Linked DNA regions of Homo sapiens: all the other regions are linked to region 1. The links are contacts of gene promoters, found by promoter capture Hi-C in blood cells and fetal thymus (Javierre and others, 2016). All regions are on one chromosome and are shown on one strand. The core of a region is centred on a gene start or on the middle of the fragment in contact, and the rest is flanking DNA. Distances in the headings are between cores, read along the strand shown.

The links. The method cuts DNA at HindIII sites, captures the fragments that hold promoters and counts their contacts. A CHiCAGO score of 5 or more calls a contact.
Region 2: a fragment that was not itself captured here is called in contact with the fragment with the promoter of L3HYPDH in region 1 in 1 of 17 cell types (neutrophils); the score reaches 7.1 in neutrophils.
Region 3: a contact is called between a fragment that was not itself captured here and the fragment with the promoter of L3HYPDH in region 1, in 2 of 17 cell types (neutrophils and naive B cells). The highest score is 5.9, in neutrophils.
Region 4: a fragment that was not itself captured here is called in contact with the fragment with the promoter of L3HYPDH in region 1 in 2 of 17 cell types (neutrophils and naive CD8 T cells); the score reaches 12.6 in neutrophils.

The regions. Positions count from the first base shown.
Region 1 is chr14:59,482,893-59,486,176 of GRCh38, forward strand. It overlaps L3HYPDH (trans-L-3-hydroxyproline dehydratase), which reads right to left and starts at 1,516. Exons shown (of 5, transcript NM_144581.2): 1 at 917-1,516. The coding sequence starts at 1,424. It overlaps JKAMP (JNK1/MAPK8 associated membrane protein), which reads left to right and starts at 1,625. Exons shown (of 7, transcript NM_016475.5): 1 at 1,625-1,701. The coding sequence starts at 1,698. RefSeq lists an enhancer at 1,591-1,870. The HindIII fragment of the contact is 9,651 bases long and covers 1-3,284 here.
Region 2 is chr14:60,242,087-60,245,370 of GRCh38, forward strand. It overlaps LOC101927702 (a long non-coding RNA gene), which reads right to left. Exons shown (of 3, transcript NR_188027.1): 2 at 677-784. Among named protein-coding and RNA genes, the nearest start is that of PPM1A, 5.5 kb to the right of the region's middle. The HindIII fragment of the contact is 1,443 bases long and covers 979-2,421 here.
Region 3 is chr14:60,177,751-60,181,034 of GRCh38, forward strand. It overlaps the pseudogene PSMA3P1. Among named protein-coding and RNA genes, the nearest start is that of DHRS7, 14 kb to the left of the region's middle. The HindIII fragment of the contact is 694 bases long and covers 1,347-2,040 here.
Region 4 is chr14:60,154,927-60,158,210 of GRCh38, forward strand. DHRS7 (dehydrogenase/reductase 7) reads right to left here. Exons shown (of 7, transcript NM_016029.4): 2 at 1,074-1,226. Among named protein-coding and RNA genes, the nearest start is that of DHRS7, 8.8 kb to the right of the region's middle. The HindIII fragment of the contact is 4,388 bases long and covers 1-3,284 here.

The DNA of each region.
Region 1 (3,284 bases), core at 266-2,765:
CATTCTTACTGATAGAATTCAGCTCCTGGGAGGTAGTAGTCTGATGAGAAACCAGATGCCAGCTTGCCAGGTCATCCCTCCTGTAAGGGTTATGGTTATAGAGATGCCCTGCTTTACATGATAAGCTGTACAAGGATCTGTACTAGAGAATCCAGCAAAACCTTTTAATGGCTCAATAGGCCTAGGGAACTTTAGCGATCATATAAACCTTGCAATCTATCTCCAGGAATACAGTATCTTGCATACTCTCATTTAATCCTAACAAAAAAACTCTATGAGGGAAAAGAAGAAACACAGGCACAGAGAGATTAAGTAATTTGCCTAAGGTTGCACAGCTTTAGGGGGTTATCAGGATTTGAAACCAGGCAATGTGTGTTCCTGTTCTTAAAGAAAAGCAACATTCGTATCTTAATGATTTATAAACTGCTTTGTTCATTCATTCTCATTTAATTCTTCAAAGAAGTGGGGGAGGTGAGGAAAGGAGACCAGGTTTAGTAACTTATTAAGTGTGATTCTGTGTCTACCAAGCATATTCTCAGCCAGCCTGGAACCCTGGTACATTGGCTGTTCTTCGCTCTTTCCTTGACCCCACCGTACCTTGCTTTATCCACCGGTGAAATCTCTAGGAATGCCTCACCAGTGCAGAGGGAGGCGCTGAGTCAGGGTAACACGCAATTCCTCGCTCCTCAAGGGTCTCCCAAAACCACAGGCGGATGGGAGTCAGGGAAAATCGAAATTACACGCACCAAATACGCAAGGCTGCTGACACACGTTGGCAGTGATTTACCTTTCTATTAATTGCAAGGTTTCGCGGAGTAGGTTAGTTGCCAGAGTTCCAGCCCAGAAAAACCGTTAATGTAGTTAGTCGCGTCCCGGTTGCAGCTCTGCCCTGGGCTGGAAAGGTCCCGCCCATTACCTGTGGCCAGCACGAAGGCCGGGACGCTGTGGAAGCGCACCGGTCCGTGGCTGCGGCCGTCCTCGCATGCCACGAAGGCGGTCACCAGCCCGCAGGGGCAGTGGATATTGACGCGGGCCTCGCGGGTGCCCGCAGGGGGCGCCGGCACAAGCCCGAAGTCCAAAGCGAAGCGGCCCAGCGCCAGCACTGCGTGGCCGCACATGGAGCTGTAGCCCTCGTTGTGCAGGAACAGGACGCCCAGATGCGCGTCCGGCAGCTCGCTCGGGACTAGGACCGCCCCGTACATGTCCCGGTGCCCTCGGGGCTCGAACATGAGCCGTCGCCGCACGTGGTCAAGGTGCTGGCGCATGTAGCGCCGCTTGGCCAGCAGGGTGGGCCCAGACACCTCCGGACACCCCGCCAGCACGATACGCAAGGGCTCGCCGCCCGTGTGCATGTCCACCACCGACAGCACCGGCGTCCCTGGATCATGCGGGGGCAGCCGGGGCACCGCCAGCGCGCTCTCCATGGTCTGCGTCGGGGGAGACGAGTACGGTCCCGCAGCTATGGCTTCAAGCCCGACCCTCACCCACTGACTCCGCGGGAGGAGGGCGGGACGCTAACCAGCCACGTCCGGGGGGCGGGGTCTCGGAGCCTAAACCCGGAAGCGAGGGAGGAACTTCGGAGCTGTCGCCCGGGTTACCGGGAGGCGGAGCCGCCGAGCTCGCTGTGGCCCGGATGTTCGGTGCAGCTGCCAGATCCGCTGATCTAGTGCTTCTCGAAAAAAACCTTCAGGCGGCCCATGGGTGAGTGGTCGCCAAGATCCCGGGAAGCGTTTCTGGTAGTCCCGACTACTTTCCTACACGGCTGGCCTCGGGCTCGGCTCTTTGTAGGCGGCCTTCGGTTGGCGGCGCAGGCTCGCCCCTTGACCCCGCCCGCCCTCGGGCCGGGCTCCGCACTCCTGCGGGGTTGGGGTGGTCTGTCCGCAACGGGCTACTAGGGGAGGCGCGCTGTCTGCGGCGAAATGCCAGGTCTTTGTTGTTTGGTCCGAAATGTCTCTTCAGTCCCTTAGTTTAATGTCGAGGGAACACTTGCTTGAGGGTTGACTTCGGAATTGAAAACGCGGGTGATAGTGCAGAAAAAACAGTAAAGCAGAAGCAAGTTGCTGCATAATTTGTCTACTGCTTCAACCTCAAACGTAGATTTATAGCGCCCGTCACAAAGGGCAGGACCGCTGCAAAAAAATGGAATCTTAAAACTTTAGCCATCGTTCGCTAAAGGAAATGAAAGGAGAAATTCAACAGTCGCTTGGAGCCTGGGTTTTGCTTAGTAAGTGATAGGCTGTTTATTTCAGTTCAGTTTATCATACTGGTTTTCAGGCCTTGGATTTTGAGAAACTTTAGATTATTGATATTCACGTGTATTTATTAAGCATCTACTAGATGTAAAGCCCATACAGAAGTTTCCAATTCCTTACCTTCTGCATTCTTGAAAAACCTGAAATATTCATTTTCATGTATTAATTTAGAACATTGTGATTACAATTGGTTACAAAAAAAATAAGCGCCCATTAAAGAGGCCAGTGGGTTTAAAAAGCTAAGTCCGAAATTTGTTAAAAGCGAAAATATTAAACTGGAGGAATATTATTCAATGCTGTTTCTCTTTTTCTCTCAGCAGCATAAGGAGAAGGAAGTAAAAAGTCTGCTTGAATGTGAAAGGAGAGAAGGCACTGTAGACCAGGCAGTCTAGATTGTGAATTCGTGAATAATTTGGGAAATGATTGTTCAAGAATAGTCAAAAGATGCATAATTTTTCAAATTAATTCACATGTAGACCGCAGTTTGTTTTGAGACGGAGTCTCCTTCTGTAGCCCAGGCTGGAGTGCAGTGGCGCGATCTCGGCTCACTGCAACCTCTGCCTCCTGGGTTCAAGCGATTCTCCTGCCTCAGCCTCCCCAGTAGCTGGGACTACAGGCGCGCGCCACCACGTCAGGCTAATTTTTGTATTTTTAGTAGAGACGGGGTTTCACCATTTTGGCCAGGCTGGTCTGGAACTCCTGACCTCATGATCTGCCCACCTCGACCTCCCAAAGTGCTGGGATTACAGGCGTGAGCCACCTCACCGAGCCTGTTTGTTTGTTTTAATCAATGAATGAATGAAGGGAATCAGATGTCACTGATGAAGAAAACTTCCATAATTTCTTGTGAATAAGGTCAAAGACAACGTATTAGGTTCTTAGTTGTTGGGGTTTTTTTAAGTAAGGAATAGCTGCTTTTCCCCTAAGCCTTTAGATCAGGGGCTTAATTTTAATGCAGTGGTTTCTAAAATATTGGCCCAGTGACAGCCTTGATGAAATTTTCACTTATCCTCCACAAAAATGATAAAAGCT
Region 2 (3,284 bases), core at 450-2,949, 760 kb after region 1:
AGATCCAGCCACTTGCTATCAATTCTTTTCTCTACATTGCCTTGGTTCTTTGCAAGATAACCTTGAAATTCCAGGCTCACATATAGAAATAACAACATATGGCTGAGGAAGGCATTTTCTCTCCTGTGATTCTTCTTATTAGGGAAGAAAACCTCTCTACCCCCTCAAGACTTCTCAATTTCCTTTATCCAGAATTGGGCTACCTCACTATGTCCCCAGGCAGTGCTTCTCAATTTTTTCACACCATGACACAAATACAAAGATAACGTTTTTGTGACACAGAGGGGTACCTGGGTAATGTTGCTTGTGGCCAGTCATACCATCCCAGGGCTTCAGCAGCTCAGCCTCACTTGAATGTCCCAAGGGCTTAAGGGATCCATACCTTATCACATCTATGACCCATCTGAGACATACCAGGGTATGCTGGCACATAGATTGGTATGCTCTGCTCTAAGCTACAAGGGAGGGTGAGAGAGCATGCATCCATATACATGCTCTAGTGAGAGAAGGATCTGCCAACGAGGAGGCTCTGCCAAGTAGTAGGAAGTGGTGGGGCAACCAACCGCATCAGTCATCTTTTCAAGGGTGCCTTCATCTATTCTAATTTTCACAACACATTTTAGGAGGAAGTATTCTGTGGAGGATAAAACCAAGGCTTATAATTTAAATGACTTGCCTGAGGTCACAGAACCAGTGAGTGGTTCAATTGACACAGCAGATGCAGATCCAGGTGTGTGCTGGGAAATGTTTAACAACCACCTTTCCAAATGTAGTTCCAACATGGCTATTGGTTAATATTTTCATTTAAGATAAAAATAAAACAACAAAAATGTATGTTAGAGCTTATTAGTCAATGATGTGACTTCATTGCTAAATTGAATGTTTTTATGCTATTCACCATGTAACAGTTATAGACACGACATGTCTTTTACATTTAATCTGCATAAAACATTTTCTCTGTCACTTAAGCCTAGACCAAGCTTGTCCAACCCTGGGCCTGTGGGCCGCATACAGCCCAGGATGGCTTTGAATGCAGCCCAACACAAATTCGTAAACTTTCTTAAAATGTGAGATTTTGTGTGTGTGTGTGATTTTGTTTCGTTTTGTTTTGTATTAGCTCATCAGCTATCATTAGTGTTAGCGTATTTTATGTGTGGCCCAAGACTATTTTTCTTCTGCCAATGTGGCCGAGGGAAGCAAAAGATTGGACAACCCTGGTCTAGCCCACAACCAGCAAAGCAATAAGTGAAGCCCTCATCTGTGGTGTCCGCTGATCAAGCTACCAAAGAAAACTCACTAAATGTGGTATTGGGAAGAGATGTACAATTACATATAGGGAATTTCCACCATGCAGACACAATGCATGTAAATTGCCTAAAGAACAAAGACAATATTAAAATGTATTAACATAATTTGGAAGTGATGTTTTTATCACATACTACCTTTGTTTAAAATTTATTTCATTGGAAGTTTATCTAACTTAATTTTTATTTCTATTTTTATATTTATTTATTGATTGATTTTTGAGATGGAGTCTCACCTTGTCACCCAGGCTGGAGTGCAATGGCGCAATCTCAGCTCACTGCAACCTCTGCCTCCTGGGTTCAAGCAATTCTCCTGCCTCAGCCTCCCAAGTAGCTAGGATTACAGGCTCCCGACACCACACCTGGCTAATTTTTGTATTTTTAGTAGAGACGGGGTTTCACCATGTTGGCCAGGCTGATCTCAAACTCCTGATCTCAGGTGATCCACCCACCTCAGCCTCCCAAAGTGCTGGGAATATAGGCATGAGACACTGCACCCAGCCTATATCATTTAATTTTTAATAATGAGTATTTAACAAACAGCAGGCAAAATTTCTGAAAATTTAATAATCTGCTGTCATGAGCCAGTATAGGCCAGCTCTCCACACCACGGACTGGAACTAAGTTCAGCACTCTTTCCACTCCTGCTGCCTTTACTACCAGCATGTAAAAGCAATGATGCTCAGTATCGTACGGGGGACAAACCTGGGTACCCGTCATTAATTTCTGTGACCCTGGGTAGTTACTACCAGATGCTTAGTTTTCTCTTCTATAAAGGAGGAGATTAAGAGTCCTTGCCCTGTCTACCTGCAAGGGTTTTTGAGAGGATTAAACTGGTTAGTCTGTATGATAGTGCTTTGTAAACTGCAGAGTCAGGTTCAGATAAAAGGCTTTATGATGATGACAATTTCATTACTGTTTTCAACCAGGCCACCATTGTTAAGGATGCAGTGTGTCGCTGCTTTCAAAAGTATGGTTTAGTTTGAGATCTTCTGTAATGCCCAGGATAGACAGTAAACACCCAGAAGAATTGTTCTGAAGAAGCCCACTCAAATCTGTGCTAGTCTTTACTTAGCACAAATAGGTACCTATATTGGGATGAAAACTATTTATTTGAAGCTTATAATTCACTCTTTTCTAGCTGCTGCTGGATTGTCTGACGGGTCTTTCCTGGAGTTATGGAATACTTCTCAATTTCAATAGTTGAATAAAGGTGTTTTTTTTTCTGTCATGCAGGCTAGGGTGCAGGGGCATGATCTCGGCCCACTGCAACCTCCACCTCCTGAGTTCCAGTGATTCTCCTGCCTGCGATTCTCCTGCCTCAGCTTCCCAAGTAGCTGGGATTACAGGCGTGTGCCACCAGGTGTGGCTAATTTTGTATTTTCAGTAGAGACGGGGTTTCCCCATGTTGGCCAGGCTGGTCTTGAACTCCTGGCCTCAAGTGATCCACTCGCTTTGGCCTTCCAAAGTGCTGGGATTACAGGTGTGAGCCACTGCACCCAGACTATTTTTAATTTCAATTTTTAAAAAAGTTGCTTTGCTTTTTGCACCAGACCAACTCACCAAGTTATTTTCTATGGATTATACCCGTGCACATAATGTAGTTTCCTGATTATAAATTAAATATCCCTAATGTCCACGTTGAAACACTCTCGAAACTTAAATGACCATAAACTATTTGCCTTGAGTTTGCTGAACTTGTCTTTGGGCTGTAAGAAACTCTTTTCTGCCAAGCTCTTTTCCACATCAGGCCCTTTGCCCATGCTGACCCCTCTACCTGGAAAGTTCTCCCCTGATTATGAAGCTGACTCCTTCTCATCCTTTAGATCAAATGCTGCCTTCTTAGAGAGGTCTGCACTGAACACCTGTTTCAAGTCGTCTCCCGGATCTGTTTCCTTATTTATTTTCTTCACAGCATGGATAACAGTATGCAATTTCCTTTCTATCTGCTGACTTATTTGTCTATGCCTCTTATTATTA
Region 3 (3,284 bases), core at 444-2,943, 700 kb after region 1:
TCATTTATTCATTTAGTTATCCATTAGGCATTAAATTAGGAAGTGCATGTTACATTCTGAAACTTACCTTTTCAGAAGTCAGTTGCCAGTATAATGAAACACTTGCTTTGAAATGATGAAAATTAGATTTCAAATAAAAAACTTTTTCATTTTTATAAATTAACATTAATAGATTTTTTTAAAATTAAAAATAGCAAAAGTTTATTGCAATCCATGTAAATAAATGATGCAGGAAGGCATAAGGAAAAGTAGATGACCTTCCCTGTGTGAACTCTCACCTACCACAGTAGGCTAACCATAGCTCAGAGCCTGGGATGAGCCTTCCTACAACATTCCCTTTCTCATATAAACATTCCCAAATATTATAATTAATTTTATGTAATTTCCATTTTCATTTCATTTAAAAATGATCAAATATCAGCAATATCCCTATGGTTTTTTGCTTGAACTTATAAAAACAGTATTGTATTATACACTTCACACTGAGACTTGCTTTTCCAGTTTACCAATATCATGAACATCCCTCCAGATAGATTTAGTAGATTTGACACTTTCTTTTTAATCACTGTCTACTATTCCATTGAATAGATATACCACAATTATTCAATCATATCCATTACTGATGGGCATTAAAACTGTTTCCTTTTTGTATTAAATAACTACAACCAATGGTTTATATCCATGTGTATCTGTGTTCCTTATATACTGATGCTGTTATTTCTATGAGATGAATTCCTAAGAGTAAAATTGCCGAATTAAGAGTATATTTAGGTTTGTTTAGATATGCAAATACTTACCATTGTGTTTTAATTGCCTACAGTATTCAGTACAGTAACATGCTATACAGGTTTGTAGCCTAGGGTATAGTATCTATCCTAGGTGTGTAGTAAGCTATACCATCTAGGTTTGTTTAAGTACACTCTACGATGTTGATATAATGACAGAATCGCCTAACAACCCATTTCTCAGAAAGTATTCTCATCATTAAGCAACACATGGCTGTGTTTGTTCCTTTGTACTCCGTATTACTTCATGCTATTTCAAATTTTGTGTTCTTTTAAATTGTGTTTTCTAGTTACTTGCTGCTGGTATATGAATATGAAATTAACTATTATAAATTGCTTCGATAACAAGGCACTGTGCTAAATTATCCTATTTTTAAATTCTATATGTTTTCTATGTAATTAAACCTATTATTAATAATATAATGATAGTCTAATTTCTTTTTCCAATACTTATGTCTTGATTTCTTTTTTTTTTTTTTGCACTGTCAGGAATTTCTAATACAGTGTTGACTTGAAGTGATAAAATGGGTAACATTGCCTAGTCCCTAACTTTATTAGGAAAGCTTAAAATTTTTCTGATTTAGGATTATGTTTGCTGAAGTTTTTTATAGATAGATAGATAGGCAGAATCTTTAGGTGAAGAATATTCTGTTTCTTTTACCCTCCATTTTTTACTACAAAACTTTCCAAATATACAAAAGTTAAAAGAATAGTACATGATCATCCATATACCCACTAACTATTAGCAATTTGTCATATTTGTTTCATCTATAAGAAATATAAATGGGGCTATGAAGGCTGTGGGAAATCGTACAGTGATTGAAATCATATATAAACATAGCAATGTCTTTGGGGTCTAAAAAATTAGTGCTTTCTAAACTTTATGAAGGAGTTTCCAACAAACGACTTATTAATGTTGATCAGCACATTGGATCGGAATGTTGGAATGCTGGCAGCAGGTTTGTAGGCAGATGCTTGTTCTTTAGCAGACATAGCAAGAGAAGAAGTTTCCAACTTTAAATCTGACTTTGGTTATAACACTCCACTAAAACATCTTGCAAACAGAGTGGACATGTATGTACATGCATATACACTCTACAGTGCTGTTAGATCTTTTGCCTTCAGTTTCATGTTAGGGTCTTACAGTATGAATGACAGTGCACAATTTTCCATGATTGACTCATCAGGTGTTTTATATGGTTATTGGGCCTGTGCCACTGGCAAAGCCAGGCAAGCTGTAAAACAGAAATAGAAAAGCTTCAGATGAAAGAAATGACCTGCTATGATACTGTTACAGAAGTTGCTCAAGTAATTTACATAGTACATGATGACGCTAAGGATAAAGTTTACGAACTCAGCTGGGTTAGTGGTTTAACTAAAGGAAGACATGAAATTGTTTCAAAAGATATAAGGGAATAAGCAGATAAATATGCTAAAGAATCCTTGAGTGAAGAAGACAGGTCAGATGATGATAATATGTAAAATTTACTCCAGTATCTATTCTATGTTAAATTCCTATTACAATCCCGCGTAACTATATAGCCCTGTGGATTACACATACCCACTGACCAATTTTTTATTAAATTTTCATCTTGTAAAAGACAAAACAGAAACAACAACAAGATAATTTTAAAAATTAAAAATATTACCCCACTACTTTCTGGCCTCCATGATTTCTAATGAGGAACCCGCCATCAGTCTTATTAAAGATCACTTGTACATGATGAGTTGCTTCTCCATCTTTGTCTTTTGATAATTTGATTATGTGTCCTGGCATGATTCCTTTTGCATTTATCCTTCTTGGAGTTAATTGAGCTCCTTAAATGCTTAAATTCATGTTTTAATTTTTAAAAATCAAATTCAGGAAATTTTAAGCCATTATTTGTTCAAATATTTTTTTCTGACCACTTTGTCCTGTCCTCTCCTACTGGGATTCCCAATATGTGTATTTGGTTTGCTTAATGGCATCCCATAGGTCTCTCAGGCACTGTTTGTTTTTCTGCATTCCTTGACTGAATAATTTCAAAGGACCTATCTTTATGTTTGCTAATTCTTTCTATCATCCTGCTCAAATATGCTATTAAAATTCTCTAGAGAAATTTTTATTTCAGTTACTCTACTTTTCAGGTCGAGAATTTCTGTCTGGTTTCTTTTTATAATTTCTATTTTTTATTGATATTTTCTATTCATTTATCATTTCCCTGATTTTCTCTCACACTTTCTCCATGGTTTCCTTTAGCTCTTTGTGCATATTTAAGACAGTTTGACTAGGTAGTCCAATGTCTGTGCTTCCTCAGAGATAGTTTTTGTTCATTTCTTTTGTGAATGGGCCATACTTTCTTGTTTCTTTGCATGCTTTATAATTTTTTGTCAAAAATGGAAACTTAAAAGCAAGATAAAGAACAGTATTATAATATTTATTTAATAAACTCTTCTATAGCCAGGTATTTTTCTGCATGTTTTACAAATATGAAATCGTTTAGTCTTCTGAACAATCCT
Region 4 (3,284 bases), core at 516-3,015, 670 kb after region 1:
AAGCAGTATCATGAAAGAGGCCTGTTGCCCTGCTGAGCACTACTGTGGCAACTAACTCTCATTTCTGGGTGGTTAGCTCGATCAGCAAAGTTAAAGATTTAAAAGAATGACAGGTAGAGAGATGGCCCAAAAAATGGTCTGTTGGAAAATTCAAAATTATCTCAGTTTAGGTACTATTAATAAATGTTCCATGAAAAATAATAACTTTATACTTGAAGTTGCTTTCAATGTGAACATAATGGCTGGGTGCGGTGGCTCACACCTGTAATCCCAGCATTTTGGGAGGCCGAGGCAGGCAGATCACCTGAGGTCAGGAGGTCGAGACCAGCATGGCCAACATGGTGAAACCCCGTCTCCATTAAAAATACAAAAATTAGCTGGGTGTGGTGGTGCACGTCTGTGGCCCCAGCTACTCAGGAGGCTGAGGTACAAGAATCGCTTGAACCTGTGAGGCGGAAGTTGCAATGAGCCAAGATCACACCATTGTACTCCAGCCTGGGCAACAAAGTGAGACTTCATCTCAAAAAGAAAAAAGTAAACATAACTACACCAAAATTCAAACAAAAATATTAACACTGTTGCCCTTTATGTGAATATGAAAGTATTACCTCAAGTTGTATTTTTTAAAGCTAATTCCATTCCTGTTCTTTTATCCTATATAATAAGTCTTATCCCATATGATTTTAATATCTGATACTTTAATAAAATGAGTAAGGATTCTTCCTAATTTCTATGATCAGATACATGTATGTCATGGATAAGAACCCAACTGTTTTTTCTCTAAGACAAAAATCTAAGATACTTGGTCACTAAAAATCCACCAGCATTTTATATAATTGTTGGTCACTCCCTAATGCCAAGAGTCAGTGCAAAAAAAGCATAGAAAGGTGGCAGAAAAGAAGAAAAAGGCGAGGGCAGCCAATTAAGGCAAAAAGGAGAGGAACTGAGATGAAGCATGTAGAACATTTGGAGCCGGGGGGAAATCTCACTCCTCTCTAAAAGTCCCAAAACTGTATTTGAGTTTGGACTGATTTATTTCTAGGAAGCACCGCTGCTATTTCAGATCCGCTTACCTAGGCATCTTCTTTTCACCCTTTCCAGCTCATGCACTCTTCTGGCTGACAGCACAAGAGAAACTCCTAGTTTAGACAACTGGTAAGCCAGCTCCTCACCAATTCCACTCGAGGCTCCAGTCACCCACACCACCATATCAGTCAGCTCCCATTCTATGGAAGGAATGTAAATGGAAGGAAGAAAATAAGCAATGAATTACGCTCATAAATCCAAGATTAGAAAAAAAAAAGAAAGCCTTAAACAATACCACTAAATATGAAGGCATGATGTATAGAGTTAAAATTTGAAATATTCTAAGAAAGCATCTCCTTCTTAACTAAAAAAAAAAAAAAGCATTAATACAAATCATACTAGTAACAGTTATCAACACAGTATTTGTATATTACAGAACCTTCATGACTTTTCCAGACTTTACTTCAAGGTAAGCCTTATAACCTCATGGTTTCACTCTAAGGCTCTATTTAACACAAACAGGTAAGATAAATATGATAGATAAGATAAACAGGCTAAGTAAATACAAAAATCACTGTCTGGACTCACTTTTCCTTAGCCATTAAATGAGGCATTCAGATTAGATGATGGCTGAAGGTCACATCCAGTTTTTAATTCTATTATTCTAATATTTTGCAATGGAGGTTGATGAAGAATCTAAATATACCAAGTTCTGTGCTGTTGATGGAAACATCCTAGATTTTTAAAGTAGTATTTTCCCCATTTGCCAATAATGCCTGATGCCTATCAGCTCAAGGTCATTTTGTAAAAATGTTCCCCAGATGCCTGAGCTTTCATCTTAGGAGAATATAGTAATTCACCCAAGAACAAATGCATATTACAGAGAGATGAAATATTGTACTCTGCTTCTCCAATTATGTTCCTCTTAAAAGACTACAAATGTTACAGTACTAAAGCAATGACAAATGGTTTATTCTTTTCTCCAATGAAAAACTTATTAGCACTTCAGGAGATGATATTCACTGTCTCTCTGAACCCGTAAAGTCACTGTTATGCAAAGTTCCTGGGTGACTTATTTACTAAAATATATGTTATTTATCAAAAATATCAAATATCGTATCACTTAACATCACATTTCCGATTTTAGATCAGAAAAGTTAAAATCAGGAAATGATTGTACTGTTTTAAACAGCTCTAAATCCTAACTGTGATGTTAACAGTACCATCCCTGGAGACTGCCAGGGTTCAAATGCCAGCTCCATCACACACAGCACTGAAATGCTCCCAGGTGAGAACTTGGTGCCTTAATTTTCCACAACTGGAAATGTGATGAATAAGAACACATCCTTCACAGGATTGTTGAGAAATGAGTTAAAACATGGAAAGCACTCAGGGCAGTATCTAGTACATACTCAGTGTTTAATAAACGTCAATTATAATTATTGCTCAAGTTTTTTAACAGATGGACTTTACTACAGCAAAACATAGAACAGTCACTTAATAACGTATGTCTCCTAACTTCTCCAGCCAGGAAAACAGAGTTACCAATTCTAATGGCTTAACGTTTTTACATTACTTCCTATGTACTTAGCACATTGTCTACTAAAAGCCTCACCAGAACTGTATGGAAAGGTATTATTATCTCAGTTTTACAGAAAAGGTAACTGAGGTTTACAGAGATTAATTTGTCCCACTAGACCATAGATTCCATTAAGGGTAGGACCCTGTCTACCTTGTTCATTGCTGTGGCCTCAGTGCTTAGCAAAGACTGGAATATTGAAAAGGCTCCATAAATAACTACTGAATAAACACCCAAGAACCCTGGCAGAGCCGGGATATAAGCCCAGGTATATCTAGCTCCAAAGCCCACACTGTCCACTATTTCATGATATACACATTTACATATGATCAATATTTTAAAACCCAACTGTTTCTTAGACATTCAAGAAAATACCACTTGTCCTTAAGAAAAAGGTTCCATGTAAATATCTCAACTAAGGCCAGGTACGGTGGCTCACATCTGTAATCCCAGCACTTTGGGAGGCCAAGGCGGGCAGATCACTTGAGGCCAGGAGTTCGAGACCAGCCTGGCCAACATGATGGAACCTGTTCTCTATGAAAAATACAAAAATTAGCCAGGTGTGGTGGCGCATCGTTGTAACCCCAACTACTCAGGAGGCTGAGGTGCAAGAATTGCTTGAACCTGGGAGGCAGAGGTTGCAGTGAGCCAAGATTGCTCCACTGCACTCCAGCATGGG